4 separate regions of the Homo sapiens genome follow, and regions 1, 3 and 4 are each linked to region 2. Evidence: promoter capture Hi-C in human tissues and cell types (Jung and others, 2019). All regions are on one chromosome and are shown on one strand. Each heading gives the region's core, a stretch centred on a gene start or on the middle of the fragment in contact. The rest is flanking DNA. Distances are from core to core; before and after follow the strand shown.

Region 1 (4,916 bases), core at 1,886-4,385, 480 kb after region 2:
TCAGTTTTCTGCATAGGGCTAGCCAATTCTCCCAGCACCATTCATTAAATAGGGAGTTTGTTCCTCATTGCTTGTTTTTGTCAGATTTTTCAAAGATCAGATGGTTGTAGATAAGCAGTCTTATTTCTGAGTTCTGCATTCTTTTTCATTGGTCTATGTGTATGTTTTTATACCAGTACCAGGATGTTTTGGTTACTATAGCCTTGTGGTGTAGTTTGAAGTCAGATAGCATGATGCTTCCAGCTTTGTTCTTTTTGCTTAGAATTTTCTTGGCTATATGGGGTCTTTTGGGTTCCATATGAATTTTAAAATAGTTTTTTCTAATTCTGTGAAAGATGTCAGTAATAGTTTAGTGGGATAAGCATTGAATTACTTTTGGCAGTATGGCCGTTTTTACAATATTGATTATTTCTATCTTTTCCATTTGTTTGTGTCCTCTCTGATTTTCTTGAGCAGTGGTTTGTGTTTTCCTTAAAGAGGTCCTTCACTTACTTTGTTAGCTGTATTCCTAGGTATTTTATTCTTTTTGTAGCAATTGTGGATGGAGGTTCGTTCATGATATGGCTCTCTGCTTGTTTACTGTTAATGTATTGAAATGCTTGTAATTTTTGCACATTGATTTTGTATCCTGAGACTTTGCTGAAGCTTCTTATTAGCTGAAGAAGCTTTTGGGCTGACATTGGGGCATTCTAGATATGGGATCATGTCATCTGCAAACACAGACAGTTTGACTTCCTATTTGAATACCCCTTATTTATTTTTCTTGCCTGATTTTCCTGGCCAGAACTTCCAATACTACGTTGAATAAGAGTGGTGAGAGAGGGCCTTCTTGTTGTGCCAGTTTTCAAGGGGAATGCTTCCAGCTTTTGCCCTTTCGGTATGATACTGGCTGTGGGTTCATCATAAATGACTCTTATTATTTTGAGGTATGTTCCATAAATACCTAGTTTATTGAGCATTTTTAACATGAAGGTATGTTGAATTTAATCAAAGACCTTTTCTGCATCTATTGAGATAATCATATGGATTTTGTTTTTAGTTCTGTTTATATGATGAATTGTATTTATTGATTTGTTTATGTTGAAATAGCCTTGCATCCCAGGGATGAAGCTGACTTGATCGCGGTGGATAAGCTTTTCGATGTGCTGCTGGATTTGGTTTGCCAGTGTTTTATTGAGAATTTTTGCATCAATGTTTATCAGGGATATTGGCTTGAAGTTTCTTGTTGTTGTTATATCTTTGCCAGATCTTGGTATCAGAATGATGCTGATCTTATAAAATGAGTTAGAGTGGAGTCCCTCTTTTTCTATCATTTGGAATAGTTTCAGAAGAAATGGTACCAACTCCTCTTTGTACCTCTGGTAGAATTCAGCTGTAAATCCATCTGCCTCTGGGCATTTTTAGTTTGTAGGCTATTTATTACTTCCTCAATTCCAGAACTTCTTATTGGTCTATTCAGGATTCAAATTTTTCCTGGTTTGGTCTTGGGAGGGTGTTTGTGTCCAGTAATTTATCTACTTCTTCTAGCTTTTTCAGTTTATGTGCATACAGGTGTTTATAGTATTTTCTGATGGTTTGTATTTCTGTGGGGTCAGTGGTGATATCCTCTTTATGATTTTGTATTGTGTCTATTTCTTCTTCTCTCTTTTGTTCTCCATTACTCTAGTTAGTGTTCTATTTTATTAATGTTTTCAAAAAAAATAGCTCCTGGATTTATTGGTTTTTTGAAGGGTTTTTTGTGTCTCTATCTCTTTCAGTTTCACTTGGATTCTTCTTATGTCTTGTCTTCTGTTAGCTTTGGGGTTTGTTTGCTCTTGATTCTCTTGTTCTTTTAATTGTAATGTTAGGGTGTCATTTTGAGATCTTTCCAGCTTTTTGCTGTGGCTATGTAGTGCTATAAATTTTCCCCTTAACACTGCTTTAGCTGCATTCTACAGATTCTAGTACATAGTCTCTTTGTTCTCATTGGTTTCAAAGAATTTCTTGGTTTCTGATTTAATTTTATTATTTACCCAGAAGTCATTCAGGAGCAGGTTGTTCAATTTCCATGTACTTGTGTGGTTTTGAGTGAGTTTCTTACTCTTGAGTTCCAATTTGATTGCACTGTGGTCTGAGAGACTGTTATGATTTCAGTTCTTTTGCATTTGCTAAGGAGTATTCCTTCCAATTATGTGATCAATTTTAAAGTAAGTGCCATGTGACACTTAGGAGAATGTGTATTGTGTTGTTTTTGGCTGGAGAGTTCTGTAGATATCTATCAGGTCCATTTGACCCAAAGCTGAGTTCAAGTCCTGAATATCTTTGTTACTTTTCTGTCTCAATTGTTGGTCTAATATTGGCAGTAGGGTGTTAAAGTCTCCCACTATTATTGTGTGGGAGTTTGTTTAAGTCCCTTTGTAGGTCTCTAATAATGTGTTTTATAAATCTGGGTCCTCCTTGAATTGATTCCTTTAGCATTATGTAATGCCCTTCTTTTTCTGTTTTGATCTTTGTTGGTTTAAAGTCTATTTTGTCAGAAACTACAATTGCAACTCCTCCTTTTTTCTTCTTTTATTTGCTTGGTGAATTTTCCTCCATTCCTTCATTTTAAGCATGTGTGTGTCTTTGCATGTGAGATGGGTTTCTTGAATATGGCACACCAATGGGTCTTGACTCTTTAATCAGCTTGACATTCTGTGTCTTTTAATGAGGGCATTTAGCCCATTTAAATTTAAGATTAGGCCAGCCACGGTGGCTTATGCCTGTAATCCCAGCACTTTGGGAGGCTGAGGCAGGTGAATCACCTGAGGTCAGGAGTTCATGACCAGCCTGGCCAACATGGTGAAACCCCGCCTCTACTAAAAATATAAAAATTAGCCTGTCATGGTAGTGCTCATCTGTAATCCCAGCTGCTCAGGAAGCTGAGGCAGAATTGCTTGAACCTGGGAGGCAGATGTTGCAGTTAGTCAAGATTGTGCACTGCACTCCAGCCTGGGTGACAGAACAAGACTCCATCTCAAAAAAAAAAAAAAAAAAAGTTTAAGGTTAATATTGCTATGTGTGAATTTGATTATGTTTTCATGGTGCTATCTGGTTATTTTGAAGACTCTTTGATGTAGTTTTTTCATAGTGTCATTGGTCTTTGTACTTCAGTGTGTTTTTGTAGTGGCTAGTAATGGTTTTTTTCTTTCCATGTTTAGTGCTTCTTTCAGGAGCTCTTGCAAGGCAGGCCTGGTGGTGATGAATTCCTTCAGCGTTTACTTGTCTGAAAATGATTTTATTCCTCCTTTACTTATGAAGCTTAGTTTTCCTGGATATTCTTGGTTGGAAATTCTTTTCTTTAAGAATGTTGAGTAGTGGCCCCCAATCTCTTACGGCTTGTAGGGTTTCTGCTTAAAGGTCTGTTGTCAGTCTGATGAACTTTTGTCTATAGGTGATGTGGCGTTTCTCTCTGGCTGCCTTATCATTTATTCCTGAATTTCAATCTTGAAGAATCTGATTATTATGTGTCTTGGGGATGATCTTCTCATGGAGTATCTTACTGGGGTTTTCTGGATTTTCTGAATTTGAATGTTGGCCTTTCTTGTTAGGTTGGAAAAGTTCTTCTGGATGATATCCTGAAGGATGTTTTCTAACTTGGTTCCATTCTCCCTATCTATTTAAGGTACCCCAGTCAGTCATAGGTTCGGTCTTTTTACATAATCTCATAGACCTCAGAGATTTCTCTCATTCCCGTTTATTCTTTTTTCTTCAATCTTGTCTGCCTGTTTTATTTCAGCAAGATTGTCTTCAAGCTCTGAAGTTCTTTCCTTGCTTCGTCTACTCAGTTATTGATACTTGTGGTTGCGTTGTGAAGTTCTGATGCTGTGTTTTTCAGTTCCATCAGGTCATTTATGTTCCTCTCTAAATTGGTTGTTTTGGTTAACAGCTCCTGTAATGTTTTTCATGGTTCTTAGCTTCTTTGCATTGGGTTAGAACATACTCCATTAGCTCAGCAAAGTTCATCATTACCCACCTTCTGAAGCCTACTTTTGTCAATTTATCCACCTTAGCCACCGCCCAGTTCTGTGCCCTTCCTGGAGATATGCTGGGATCATTTGGAGGAAAGGAGGCACTCTGGCTTTTTAAGTTTTCAGCATTTTTTGGTTTATTCTTTTCATCTTTGTGAGTTTTTCTAGCTTCGATCTTTGAGGCTGCTGACCTTTGGATGGGATGCTTGTGAGGATTTTTTTGTTCATGCTGTTTTTGTTGTTGCTTTCTGTTTGTTTTTCTAACCATCAGGCCACTTTTCTGTAGCACTGTTGTGATTTGCTTGGGATCTACTTCAGACCCTATTTGCCTGGGTTTCTCTCACACCTGGAGGTGTCAACCAGTGGAGCCTGCAGAATAGCAGAGAGGACTGCTTGCTCCTTCCTCTGGGGTCTTTGTCCCAGAAGGGGAATGATCTGATGACAGTGGGAACACTACTTTATAAGTTGTCTGACGATGTCTGTTGTGGGGGTCTCACCCAGTCAGGATGCATGAGATCTGGGAACCACTTAAGAAAGCACTCTGGCTGCACCTTGGTGGAGTGGCTGTGCTGCACTGAGGGAAATTCCATACATCTGTACTGCCTGGATTGCTCAGAGCCAGCAGGGGGAAAGACTAAGTCTGCTGATCTGCAGAAACCACCTCATTGTTCCTGTTTTATGTATTTCTTGTAGATAAGTTTTTTCTCATTTCCTGTTTTACTACCTTTATTTTTGTTAACTTTATCGTTACATGCTTTGATTATTTTTTCATTTTTTGCATACTTTTTATAAATATTATGTAATCACCTTGAAGTATAATGTAATCATCTTAAAATGGAGATTACATAAAACATCTTTTTTTTTTTTTTTTTTTTTTTTTTTTTTTTAGTATTTATTGATCATTCCTGGGTGTTTCTCGCAGAGGGG
Region 2 (4,904 bases), core at 1,230-3,729:
CCAGAAAAAAACTGAGTCTTTAGTAACATCCTGTTGCAGGCTTAATATCAGCCTTAGCTTGGAGTCACTAGGTTCAAGCTTTGATTTCCATGTCAGAGTTATTCACTTGGTTTTTGAAACTAAGTGTTAGAAAAATCCAGGGAAATTACTCAAACACAGTGTTTACATAAGAAGGAAGTGCTTACTTTTTTTTTTTTTTTTTTTGAGACGGAGTCACCCTGTGGCCCAGGCTGGAGTTCAATGGCATGATCTTGGCTCACTGCAACCTCTGCCTCCCCGGTTCAAGACCTTCTTGTGCCTCAGCCTCCCATGTTGTTGGGAATACAGGCGTATGCCACCACACCCGGCTAATTTTTGTATTTTTAGTAGAGATGGGGTTTCATCATGTTGGGCAGGCTGGTCTCAAACTCCTGACCTCAAGTGATCCACTCACCTCGGCCTCCCAAAGTGCTGAGATGACAGGCGTGAGCCACTGCACCTGGCTAAGGTGCTTGCATGTGATACCTCCATAAGAAAAGTAAATATATCTACTTCTTTCAGAAAATATATGTATTATTTTATTATTTATCTTAAAAATAAGTAGGCCTGGTGCGGCAAATCATGCTTGTAATCCCAGCACTTTGGAGGGCCGAGGCAGGTAGATCACGATGTCAGAAGATCACGACCATTTTGGCCAACATGTTGAAACCCCCTCTCTACTTAAAATACAAAAGAATTAGCTGGGTGTGGTGGCACGTGCCTGTAATCCCAGCTACTCAGGAGGCTGAGGCAGGAGAATTGCTTGAACCCAGGAGGTGGAGGCTGCAGTAAGCCGAGATCACGCCACTGCACTCCAACCTGTTGACAGAGCGAGACTCTGTTTCAAAAAAAAAGTAAATAAATAAAATAATGTAGTAAAAAATTAGTCATATGGGAACACTTCTAGAAGGTACCATGTTTCATCACATATAATTTAGCATTTAACTCAGAACTCAACAGGATATAGAACTGAGATATTCACTGTCACAAATTTCCCCTGCAAAAAGAGGAACTAATGTGTTGACGAATCTATGTAACTCATCAATTATCTACCACATTTTCCTGTGGAAATATATTCATTGTCTACAGCCAAAATGGAAGAGAGATTTTCCCTATTTTTTTCCTTGGTAACTAGCATTCCTGGCTAACATACTGAAACTCCATCTCTACTAAAAATACAAAAATTAGCTGGGCGTGGTGTCGCGTGCCCATAGCCCCAACTACTCCAGAGGCTGAAGCAGAAGAATGCTTGAACCTGAGAGGCGGAGGTTGCAGTGAGCCGAGATCTGACACTGCACTCCAGCTCTGGCGACAGAGCGAGACTCCGTCTCAAAAAAAAAAAAATAAAAATAATAAATTGAGGAACATGGGGTACACTTGAGGCCTTGCTTGAGACACATGTGGAAAATGCCAGGGAAAATCAGTCCGCTGTGGCGTGTGAAAATAATTAAGTGGCAGGCAATTAGACTGAAGAAGCTCTAGTCCCTGGATTTCTACCTCAAAAAAAAAAAAATCTAAGCTCATGTGCATTTTTTGGGAAATTACTACATTAGGGGAAACAAAATTCAGGCTTAAGCAACTATAAACTGCCAATTAAACTGTAATTACATAACCAGGAATTTTTTTTTTTTTTTTGAGACGGAGTCTCACTGTCGCGCAGGCTGGAGTGCAGTGGCAAGATCTCAGCTCACTGCAACATCCACCTCCGGAGTTCAAGCGATTCTCTCACTTCTGCCTCCCGAGAAGCTGTGATTACAGACATCTGTCATCACACCCAGCTAATTTTTGCATTTTTAGTAGACATGGGGTTTCCCCATTTGGGCCAGGCTTATCTTGAAGTCCTGACCTCAAGTTATCCGCCTGCCTCGGCCTCCCAAAGTGCTGGGATTACAGGCGTGAACGACTGCGCCCGGCCCCATAAATTTTGAATAGCAGAAAACAGAAACTGTGAACTCCACGGACCAAAGCTCTTCCCATTCATGAACCTGCACCCCGAGTCAGGATTCTCCCCTGACGACCCTCTGGTGGTCCCTGCACATTCTGGGAGAGACGGGAGGCTGCGGTTGCAGAGCTGCCCACGGAGCGCTCCAGGCCAGAGCAGTCACTACGCAGGGAAGACACAGGACGCCAGGGGGCCCGGCTGTCAGCGTAGCCGCCAAATTATGGCTGAACGGGACTGAGGCCGAGCTGGGCAAGGAGAACTCAGGGTGCAGATTGTGGAGCTGACTGCGCAGAGGCCTGAGTCCCGCCACAGCCACTTCCCACCGGTTCCAACCAGCCTATCCCCCTCTCTCGGGATGTCGGACCGGCACTCTCACCATTTCTAGGCTTCCAGGGGCTCCCGGGCGTCTTAGCTGTGGATCTCCCAATACCTGCAGGACACAGGGCCACAGAGGCTGGGCCTCTAGGAGCAGAGGACACACAGCAGTGAAGACAAGACCTGGAGCTCCGGCTGCAGAGACAAAGGCCCCGCAAAACCCGGAAGCCTTCCGCTTCACTCTGGCTGCGTGCCTGATTGGACGGCTTCCAGCCCAGCGTCCCTGATTGGATAATGCTTAAATCCCCGCCCCCTCAGGCCCTGAGTGACAGAAGATATGATCAGATGCTGGGTTAAGTGAACAAAGAGTGCCAGCCTAAGCAGCTGGCTTTTCAAACAGTGCTTCCTCCCTGAGCTGAGCCAGGCCCACCCCAGAGCATGGGAATATTTTATCTCTTGTTTACTCTCTTTCTTGTTGAATGTATTAAAAAGGTGAACAGAAGTATTTTGCTGTCATTAATAATACATAAAATTTTTGTTCAACAGAAAATCAACTTTTACTTTGGTAATGGTAAAATCTATTAAAGCTAATTTTAATAAAACCTTATAAATAAATCAAATTTGTCATTTTTGAGCACTCCAGATTTACATATATATTTTGTAATATCTCGTAATTTTAAAAAACTATTTATATTTTATTTTTGTCCACATTCTTTTTATTTTTTCAATTTGAAACAATCTTTAATTTCCAACAGCTATAGGAGATAGAAATCATTTAGAGGCAGGCACGGATAGTTCACGCTGGTAATTCCAACACTTTGGGAGGCCAAGGTGAGCAGATCACTTGAGGTCAGGAGTTCAAGACAAGCCTAGCCAACATGGTGAAACCCCATCTCTAATAATAACTAATAAATAATAATAATAACTAATAATATAAAAAGTTACCTGGGTGTGGGGGTGCACATCTGTAGTCCCAGCTACACCGGAGGCTGAGGCAGGAGAATCACTTGAAGCCAGGAGGCGGAGGTTGTGTAACAGCCCAAGGGGTTTATTTTACCCTTTGCCTAGACAGAGCCGATTCATCAAGACAGGGGAATTTGTGGAGGAAAAGTCACATATTAAATCTGAACTCAATTGAATGTGGACACAAACAATTGTCACCAAGTCCCAGAACAGGTTGTGTGAGCCCCTGAGGTGTTCATCCAGCGCTGTATTGAAGAAATCTCTATTTCAATCTATTCCTATATATTAGTTGTTGAAAAACAATAGACAATCACAAAAAAAGGTTGACCTTTTTGTGTTCCTTGAGGCAAGTCGTGAAGGGCTCTCATCACTGGGCCTTATGCCAAACAACTCGTTACAAAAGAGCTAAGGTCCCAGACCGCCCTGAAGCTTCATAAGACCTCTCCTTGTCTGTGTACGATGGACGGGTGGCTGACTCTAGAGCTGTGGCTGTTGCCTCCCTCTCTGGTGGTGAATCCCCCATAGTCTGGTGAGGGAAAATATATATATATATATATATATATATATATATATATCTTTTCCCATTTCCTCGTCTTATTAAGATTGGCTTATTACATCAATCTGCTTATTATATTTATTTGCTTATTATATCATTTGCTTATTATATTATTACTTTATTATGTCTGCATTGCCATTTACGTGGGATAAAAGTTGTTTACCCTTAATGGTATTGTGTGTGTGTCTTTGTTTCTCCCCTCTCACATTTGCCTCACAGAACATTTTTGGCATCACAAATAGGATTTGAAAACAAAAGTGTACCCCTTTTTGACTAGAAGGACAGGGCTGGAGGGCTCAGGGACTTCCCATATCCTGGGATGGGAACTCCCCCAGTTCTCCCTCTTGGTGATTAAATGGTCAAGGGGAACTGGTTTTTGTGGGAATTGGGAATCTAAATTAGTGCAGTTTAAACCTTTGACTGTGCGGGAAGTGCTGCGGGGGATTCCAGTCAGCAAAGGAGATGCTGAGGGATCTCCCGGAGTGGATGGTGTTTGCTTACTGCTTATAAGTTAATGTATCGTGATAGGGGCTGGTTGCTACAAGATAAATGTAAGCGGAAAAGGAAAATGCTAATCTGACTTCCAGACTGGCCCAATGCCAGTCAATGTCTTGACTGATAAAGCTCAAAGCTATCAGCCTATCGCTGAAAAAAGCAGCTGTCCAGGTGGCCCAGTCAGGATAAAACTGAAGAACTAGTCAGCCGGGGCTTCGAGCAGGTAAAAACCCAGTTCCTATTTCAAAAATGGGAAATTAACCCTAGTAAAATTCAAGGACCTGCACAAAGTATAAAATTCCTTGGCATTTTATGGAATGCAAATAAATAGTCCATTTTACCAAAGGCTAAGGCTAAAATACTAGATTTTGCAACCCCTACCACTAATGTACTGGCTTGTTTGGTTTCTGGAGACATCATATTCCCCACTTGGGTAACATTTTACAACCTCTGCATGCAGCCACTAGAAAACGCTATGACTTTCACTGGGGAGAGAAAGAGAGCATGGCCTTTGAACAAGCTAAACAAGCAGTGCAACTGGCCCTGGATCTATGGCCCATACGGGATGGGCCAGTAGAACTGCAAGTAACTGTCCTAGATCAATATGCTAATTGG
Region 3 (4,509 bases), core at 1,229-3,728, 450 kb after region 2:
AAGTCACTGAGGTAGGACAAAAGTTTGCTACAGTCCTATTATTTTATGGTTATTTTAAGTGTACCAGGACTCTAAAAGGAACTTGTTTGTATAATGCTATTCTATACAAGGTATGTAGCCCACGAAATGACCAGCCTGATGTGTGCTATAACCCATCTTTTTTCCTACTGCCCATAAAAACAGGCGAACTTCTAGGTTTCCTGGTCTATGCTTCCCGAGAAAAGAGAAGCATAGCTATAGGCGACTGAAAAGATGACAAGTGGCCCCCTGAAAGAATCATACAGTACTATGGGCCTGCCACTTAGGCACAAGACAGCTCATGGGGATACCGAATCCCCATTTATATGCTCAACTGAATCATACGATTACAAGCTGTCTTAGAAATAATCACTAATAAAACTGGCAGAGCTTCAACTGTTTTAGCCCAGCAAGAAACCCAGATGAGAAATGCTATCTATAAATATAGACTAGCCCTAGACTACTTGCTAACAGCTAAAGGAGGGGTCTGTGGGAAATTTAACCTTACTAATTGCTGTCTACACATAGATGACCAAGGGCAAGTAGTTGAAGACATAGTTAGAGACATGACAAAACTGGCACATGTGCCTGCGCAAGTGTGGCATGGATTTAATCCTGGGGCCATGTTTGAAAAATGGTTCCCAGCACTAGGAGGATTTAAAACTCTTATAGTAGGAGTTATAATAGTAATAAAAACATGCTTACTGCTCCCTTGTTTGCTATGTACTTCTTCAAATGATAAAAAGCTTCATCGCTACCTTAGTTCACCAAAATGCTTCAGCACAAGTGTACTATATGAATCACTATCGATCTGTCTTACAGGAAGACATGAGTAGTGAGGATAAAGGTGAGAACTTCCACTAATGAGAGAGGTTCTCAAACGGGGGGAAAAAGGGAGGAGACCACCCCTCATATTGTCTTATGCCTAGTTTCTGCCTCCAAAGAAAGAAGAAGTGAAAACTGAAAGGCAGAAATGGAATCCACAGGCAGATAGCCCAGCATCATGCCCTGGGCCTGCTAGTTAAAAATCCACCCCTGACCTAACTGCTTGTGTTATCTATAGATTTCAGACATTGTATGGAAAAGCATCATGAAAATCCCTATCCTGTTCTGTTCTGTTCTGACTAGTGGTACATGCAGCCCCCAGTCACATACCCTCTGCTTGCTCAATCAATCATGACCTTTTCAGGCGGACCCCGTTATAGTTGTAAGCCCTTGAAAGGGACAGGAATTGCTCACTCAGGGAGCTCAGTTTTTGGAGATGTGAGTCTTCCAATGCTGCCAGCTGAATAAAGCCCTTTCCTTCTGCAACTCGGTGTCTGAGGGGTTCTTGTCTGTGTCTCATCCTGCTACAACAGAGGTGGGCAGATCACGAGGTCAGGAGTTCCAGACCAGCCTGACCAACATGGTGAAACCCCGTCTCTAGTAAAAATACAAAAATTAGCCAGGCGTGGTGGTGCAAGCCTTTAATCCCAGCTACTCAGGGGGCTGAGGCAGGAGAATCACTTGAACCCGGGAGGCAGAGGTTGTAGTGAGCCAAGATTGCGCCATTGCACTCTAGCCTGGTCGACAGAGCAAGACTCCATCTCAAAAAAATTAAAAATAGGCTGGGTTGGTGGCTCATGCCTGTAATCCCAGCACTCTGGGAGGCTGAGGTGGATGGATCACCTGAGGTCGGGAGTTCGAGACTAGCCTGACCAACGTGAAGAAACCCTATCTCTACTAAAAATACAAAATTAGCCAGGTGTGGTGGAGCATGCCTGTAATCCCAGCTACTCAGGAGGCTGAGGCAGGAGAATCGCTTGAACCCGGGAGGCAGAGGTTGTGGTGAGCCAAGATTGTGCCATTGCACTCCAGCCTGGGCAACAAGAGTGAAACTCTATCTCAAAAAATAATAATAAATAAAAATAATAAAAAATAATAATGAATAAGTAAATAAAATAAAAATAAGGGATAAATATGCAAGGAAATAGCATAAAGAAAAAACAATCAGAACCTCAGGAAATATTGGACACACTTATAAAAATGCAAAATGCTCTGGAAAGTCTCAGCAATAGAATTGAACAAGTAGAAGAAAGAAATTCAGAGATCAAAGACAAGATCTTCAAATTAACACAATCCAGCAAAGACAAAAAAAAATGAACAAAACCTTAAAGAAGCCTGAATAATTGGTTTTTCTGAAAAAGAAGAAAAATCTAAAAGTTTGGAAAACATATTTGGGGAAATAATTGAAGAAAACTTACCTGGTTTTGCCAGAGGCCTAGACATTCAAATACAAAAAGCACAAAGAATACCTGAGAAATTCATCACAAAAAGATCATCACCTAATCACATTGTCATCAGGTTATCTAACGTTAAGATGAAGGAAAGAATCATATCATATATACATATATATATATACACATCATATATATATATCATCATATACACACACACACACACACACACACACACACACAATGGAATACTACTCAGCCATAAAAAGGAATGAATTAACATTTGCAGTGACCTGGATAACATTGGAGACTATTATTCTAAGTGAAGTCACTCAGGAATGGAAAATCAAACATTGAATGTCCTCACTGAGATGTGGGAGCTAAGCTATGAGGACACAAAGGCATAAGAATGATGCAATGGACTTTGGGGATGTTGGGGAAAGAGTAGGAGGGGGATGAGGGATAGAGACTACCAATATGGTGCAGTGTATACTGCTCTACTGCTCAGGTGATGGGTGCAACAAAATCTCACAAATCACCACTAAAGAACATACTAATGTAACCAAATACCACCTGTAGCCCAGTAACTTATGGGGAAAAAAAAGAGACTTAAAAAAATATATATATATACAAAAATTAGCCAGGCATAGTGGTGCATGCCTGTAGTCCCAGCTACTTGGGAGGCTGAGGGGAGAATCACTTTAACCTGGGAGGCGGAGGTTGCATTGAGCCAAAATTGTGCCATTGCACTCCAGCCTGAGCCACAGAGTGAGACTCTGTCTCAAAAAATATATATAAAAAATAAAACTAGTAATCCAGGCAAAACAAAAATGAATTATACATTATGAAAATACTCTGCCACATTTTTATACTAAATCAGCCAGTACTGAAATTTTTTAGATGTGCCATTTGAGTAAACTGTGTGTTCCAAGTCAGATTACCTATGATAACCTCTCAGTTATCAGTGCTATGAACCTAAATTGAAGAAACAAACTTGATATTTAAGAGGACATAAATTTAATGTTAAGTGTGAACTCATAGAGAACCTAGACAGCAGTGACTTTTTTCATTCCTGAGTTCTTAAAGCTTCCTTTATCAAAAGCACTGCATTTTATCACTCGCCACAGAAGAGATAAAAAATAGTCTAAGTTGGCGGGGCACAGTGGCTCATGCCTGTAATCCCAGCACTTTCAGAGGCCGAGGTGGGCAGATCACCTGAGGTCAGGAGTTCAAGACCAGCCTGACCAACACGGAGAAACTCTGTCTCTACTAAAAATACAAAATTAGCTGGGTGTGGTGGTGCACTCCTGTAATCCCAGCTACTTGGGCGGCTGAGGCAGGAGAATCACTTGAACCTGGGAGGCAGAGGTTGCAGCGAGCTGAGATGGTGCCATTGCAGTCCAGCCTGGGCAATAAGAGTGAAACTCCATCTCAAAAAAATACATAATAATAATCTAAGTTAAATATAAATTAAATGTGTGTGTGTGTGTGTGTGTGTGTGTGTGTGTGTGTGTGTGGTGACTGTCCTAACTACCAAAATAGGTTAGGACCGTTTTTTTCCTCTCAAACATATAATCCTGAGAAGACAATCCAAACTTCATGTACACTTTGGGAGACCAAGGCGGGTGGATCACAAGGTCAGGAGATTGAGACCATCCTGGCGAACACGGTGAAACCCCGTCTCTTCTAAAAATACAAAAAAAAAAAAAAAAAATTAGCCGGGCATGGTGGCAGGCACCTGTAGTCCCAGTTACTCGGGAGGCTGAGGCAGGAGAATGGCATGAACTCGGGGGATGGAGCTTGCAGTGAGCCGAGATCGCGCCACTGCACTCCAGCCTGGGTGACAGAGCGAGACTCCATCTCAAAAAAAAAAAAAAAAAAAGCTTCATGTACATTTCTGCTACCTGAGGATCTATTTAAACATTTGTAAAGAAATCTTATTCAATTGTCATGTTTAATGCATATTTTCTTGTAGAATAAAAATTTTCTCATGGGAAAAGTCTGATGTTATAACAGTAGCTTAAAGGATAATAAAAAATATGTTTTGCTCAGGAGACATTTCTGAAAAAGGCTCCAATAATATACTTATTTCGGCCGGGAGCAGTGGCTCATGCCTGTAATACCAGCACTTTGGGAGGCCAAGAAGGGTGGATCACGAGGTCAGGAGTTCAAGACCAGCCTGGCCATGATGGTGAAACCCTGTCTTTACTAAAAATACAAAAATTAGCCAGGCGTGGTGGTGGGCGCCTGTAATCCCAGCTACTCGGTAGGCTGA
Region 4 (4,303 bases), core at 1,473-3,972, 460 kb after region 2:
TGTGAATGGGATTATGTTTTTGATTTGGCTTTTGGCTTGGATGTTTTGATGTACAGAGATTCTACTGATTTTTGTACGTGTATTTTGTATCCTGAAACTTTGCTAAAGTTGTTTATTAGTTTAAAGAGCTTTCCTGCTGAGACTATAGGGTTTTGAAGATATAGAATCATGTCATCTGCACACAGGGATAGTTAGACTTCCTTTCTTCCTGTTTGGATGCCTTTTTTCTTTTCTTTTCTTTTTTTTTTTTTTTTTTTTTTTGAGACAGAGTCTTGCTCTCGCCAGGCTGGAGTGCAGTGGTGTGATCTCGGCTCACTGCAACCTCCGCCTCCCAGGTTGAAGCGATTCTCCTGCCTCAGCCTCCTGAGTAGCTGGGACTACAGGCACATGCCACCATGCCAAGCTAAGTTTTGTATTTTTAGGAGAGACGGGGTTTCACCATGTTGGCCAGGATGGTCTCGATCTCTTGACCTCGTGATCTGCTCACCTCAGCCTCCCAAAGTGCTGGGATTACAGGCGTGAGCCCCCATGCCCGGCAGATGCCTTTTATTTTCATCTCTTCTCTGATTGCTCTGGCCAGGATTTCCAATTTTATGTTGAATAGGATGTTTGAGAGAAGGCATCCTTATCTTGTGCCAGTTTTCAAGGAGGAATGCTTCCAGCTTGTGTCCATTCAGTGTGTTGGCTGTAAGTTTGTCGTTGATGTCTCATTGTTTTGAAGTATATACCTTCAATGCCTAGTTTGTTAAGGGTTTTAAACATGAAAAATGTTAAATTATATTGAAAGTATTTTTAGCATCTATTGAGATAATCTTGGTATTTGTTATTAGTTCTCTTTATGTGATGAATAACATTTATTGATTGTATATGGAACCAACTTGCCTCCCAGAGATGCAGCCTACTTGATTATAGTGGATTAGCTTTTTGATGTTCTTCTGAATTCAGTTTCCCAGTATTTTGTTGATGGTATTTTCATCAATGTTCATCAAGGATATTGGCTTGAAGTTTTCTTTTTTTTTTAATCTCTGCCAGGTTTTGATATCAGAATGATGCTATTCTTATATATAATGAGTTGAAAAGGAGTCCTTTCTTTTCAATATTTTGAAGTATTTTTAGTAGAAGTGGTACTAGCTCTTTTTTGTACATCTGGTAGAGTTCAGCTAGGAATTTGTCTGGTTCTTTGCTTTTTTTTGGCTAGTAGGCTATTTCTTACTAATTCAATTTTGGAGCTTGTTATTGGTCTATTCAGGGATTCAGTTTCTTATTTGTTCAGTCTCTGGAAAATGTGTCTTTGCTCCCAGGTTACTATTCTCAAGCTTGGCCCAAATAAACTCTTATATTCATGTTGCCTCAGCTTTTTCCTTTTAGGTAGTCATATCACGTAGAATGAGCTAGAGCAGCCTCTATGAGGGGATCTCTCCTTTGATTGTACTCCACTTGCTGTAACACCCAAGAATGCAGAGTGTGGTTGATCCTACCTAGAATCTGCACATAAGGTCTGGCCTCTTCCTGGGATTTACAGGACACGGCCAGACTTTAGGTTGAGAATGTACAGAAAACCAACAGGAGGCATTTTCTCCATTGTGAGTTGTCAACATAGACATCTTAAAGCCCCCTTTGACAGTGTGGTTCTTTAAGCTTTTCAGATCTTGTTCAGTGATTTGCCACAGTTATGTGAGAGGCTCCAGATATAAATAGAATCTGATGACAGAATCAGCATTTTAAGAGTGAGATATCAAAGTCATAATGTATCCATAGCCATGACCACAACTATACCTACCTGTAAAATGTGATACTGGAGTAGAGTATTCTTGTCTTTCTCCTTACCCAAAAGCTAGCAAATTGGGACAAGTGATTAGGTTCTGGAGCTCCACCAGGCCATTTTCTATTTAGAATCAGCCTGAATCTCTCCAGCCTGGATTATCATTGGGCCATCAGCCCAGGGTCACTAAGAACCCTCTCACAATCACCTAGACGTCTTTGAGACATTTGAGGATGTCCAGGGCAGAATTGTGTCAGGCTGACAAGAGTGGTTAATTCTGCTTCTGGCTTGGTGTAAGAGAAATGAGTCATTCTGTGTGTGTGTGGTTTTTTTAGGGTTTTTTTTCTTTTTTTAGACGGAGTATTGCTCTATCGCCCAGGCTGGAGTGCAGTGGCGCGATCTCGGCTCACTGCAACCTCCGCCTCCCGGGTTCAAGTGACTCTTCTGCCTCAGCCTCCCAAATAGCTGGGAATACAGGCACTTGCCACCATGCCTGGCTAATTTTTGCATTTTTAATAAAGACAGGGTTTCACCATATTGCACAGGCTGGTCTTGAACTCCTGACCTTGTGATCCGCCCACCTCAGCCTCCCAAAATGCTGGGATCACAGGTGTGAGCCACCATGCCTGGCAATTCTGTGTTTTTTTCTCCCCTTATACAAGAGATAACTTTGGTTGGTACCCAGATGAGAGTTTCTCAAGTTTCCTGATACTTGGATGAAAGCAATAGGAGGTCTGGTGACTCAAACAGATAAAGTAATTGTTTTCATTTTATATGGCCATTCAAAAAACAGATGAAGCAGTCATGATCCTTACTATCCAGGAACATGTCTAGACTAACAACTGGATACATGGGTGAATTAAGCATTATATGGTTGGTACAATGAATAGATGTGTCCAAAAAAAATTGGGGCCACTGTTTTATATTGTTACTTCTGATACCATCAGCTGAGGAGATATTTATGGAGTGAAGATTTGTTATTATTTGTGTTTCCTTTACTTTGCTAAGAATATATATTTATCTTCTAGTATAATTATTCTAAAGAACTTTAATAAATTTGTTTAAATTGCTTATTAGTATATGTTATAAAATTGACAGGGCAGTGGCAAAAATAGATTAAAGTTACATAAGCTCTGGGATTTAAGATTCTCTTATGTAAGCTTAGGAAAAACAGAACTGGAAATACCTTGGTGGCAGAGAGAACATAATTCTACATAGGGTCCTTTCCCTGCCCAAATTCTGTTCAGATTCACGTTTTTTGGAGGCCTTATTTATGTCTGGCCCCGCTCTGGAGCCTTACCTCACAAAACTGATTTATAAAAATCAGAGTTTTGGCTGGGTGTGGTGGCTCACACCTGTAATCCCAACACTTTGGGAGGCCGAGGCAGACAGATCATGAGGTCGAGAGTTTGAGACCAGCCTGACTAACATGGTGAAACCCCGTCTCTACTAAAAATACAAAAATTAGCCGGGCGTGGTGGCACATGCCTGTAATCCCAGCTGCTCAGGAGGCTGGGGCAGGAGAATCGCTTGAACCCGGGAGGCGGAGGTTGCATTGAGCCAAGATTGTGCCACTGCACTCCAGCCTGGTGACAGAGCGAGACTCCATCTAAAAAAAAAAAGACTGGAGTTTTGTCTGGTGAGTCCTGCTGCTTTTCTAGAGCTGGTGCTCACAATTTTCTGAAACCCAAAAACAGATAAATGACAGAAATAAACTATTTATTTTAGGATCTTATTTTTTGAATTTGTATTAAAACCAGTGCTTACAGAAACATTCCATTTAGCACCTTGTTTTCTGTTTCTGCCAATCTAGCAGTTGCTCCACAAGCCACAAACAAGTAAATGTATACACAATAAAAATTTCTCTAAACTACATTAAACTTTTTCTATGTTCTTCTCATCTGCCTGTATTTAACTTTTATTCTATACCTTTAAAACAAAATCAATGACAGAGAAACAGAGGGAGAAATAAAAATGCTGAACCCTTTATCTAAGTCCTGGGAATTATTGAACACTTAGTATCAACTTCCAGGGTGTTATTAGGATTAAATCACAAAATGTGTTATTCCCAGCACAGTGCTCTGTAACATATCCTTGAGCACATAGTACCTGCTTAATAAACATTGCATTTGTATATGTGTACATGTTATTTTCCAAAGGCAGATTTATTCAGACATTGCCGCCTTCTGTTTGTTCTGTAAACTTTAAAGAGCCAGCGAAGAATATAAAAATTTAAGATGGAGATTGGTTTTATTTGTACCAGAAGTATTTGTGTTGTGACAAGAGTGCTAAGTGTAAGGGACTCTGTGCTGTACCTGCTTCTCTAACTAATGCTAATGAGCCCAGGGGGAACAACATCAGCATTGACAGGGAACTTGTTTGAAACACGCATTCATGAACCCTTTTCAAACTTGCAGATCCACATTACGTAGAGTGGGGCCAAAATTACCAAACGAGTTTTAAGCTCATTAAAGTTTGAGAGGCAGTGCTTAGCTAAGTGGTTATCAGCCCCGTCTTGTTTTTTTTGTTTTGTTTTGTTTT

What was found. Contacts are between HindIII fragments. The study calls those that stand out against the background at their distance.
Region 1: a contact is called between a fragment that was not itself captured here and the fragment with the promoter of ZNF737 in region 2, in 1 of the 25 tissues and cell types used here (dorsolateral prefrontal cortex).
Region 3: a fragment that was not itself captured here is called in contact with the fragment with the promoter of ZNF737 in region 2 in 1 of the 25 tissues and cell types used here (dorsolateral prefrontal cortex).
Region 4: a fragment that was not itself captured here is called in contact with the fragment with the promoter of ZNF737 in region 2 in 1 of the 25 tissues and cell types used here (bladder).

Annotation. Positions count from the first base shown.
Region 1 is chr19:21,043,321-21,048,236 of GRCh38, forward strand. The region is part of intron 4 of ZNF430 (zinc finger protein 430); the gene reads left to right. Among named protein-coding and RNA genes, the nearest start is that of ZNF430, 25 kb to the left of the region's middle. The HindIII fragment of the contact is 4,960 bases long and covers 656-4,916 here.
Region 2 is chr19:20,563,302-20,568,205 of GRCh38, forward strand. It overlaps ZNF737 (zinc finger protein 737), which reads right to left and starts at 2,480. Exons shown (of 4, transcript NM_001159293.2): 1 at 2,337-2,480. The coding sequence starts at 2,339. The region is part of intron 2 of LOC105372316 (a long non-coding RNA gene); the gene reads left to right. RefSeq lists enhancers at 1,913-2,072, 2,283-2,332. The HindIII fragment of the contact is 4,540 bases long and covers 1-4,323 here.
Region 3 is chr19:21,009,218-21,013,726 of GRCh38, forward strand. No RefSeq gene overlaps it. Among named protein-coding and RNA genes, the nearest start is that of ZNF430, 9.2 kb to the right of the region's middle. The HindIII fragment of the contact is 6,310 bases long and covers 1-4,509 here.
Region 4 is chr19:21,026,590-21,030,892 of GRCh38, forward strand. All of the region lies in intron 2 of ZNF430 (zinc finger protein 430), which reads left to right. Among named protein-coding and RNA genes, the nearest start is that of ZNF430, 8.1 kb to the left of the region's middle. The HindIII fragment of the contact is 6,523 bases long and covers 1-4,303 here.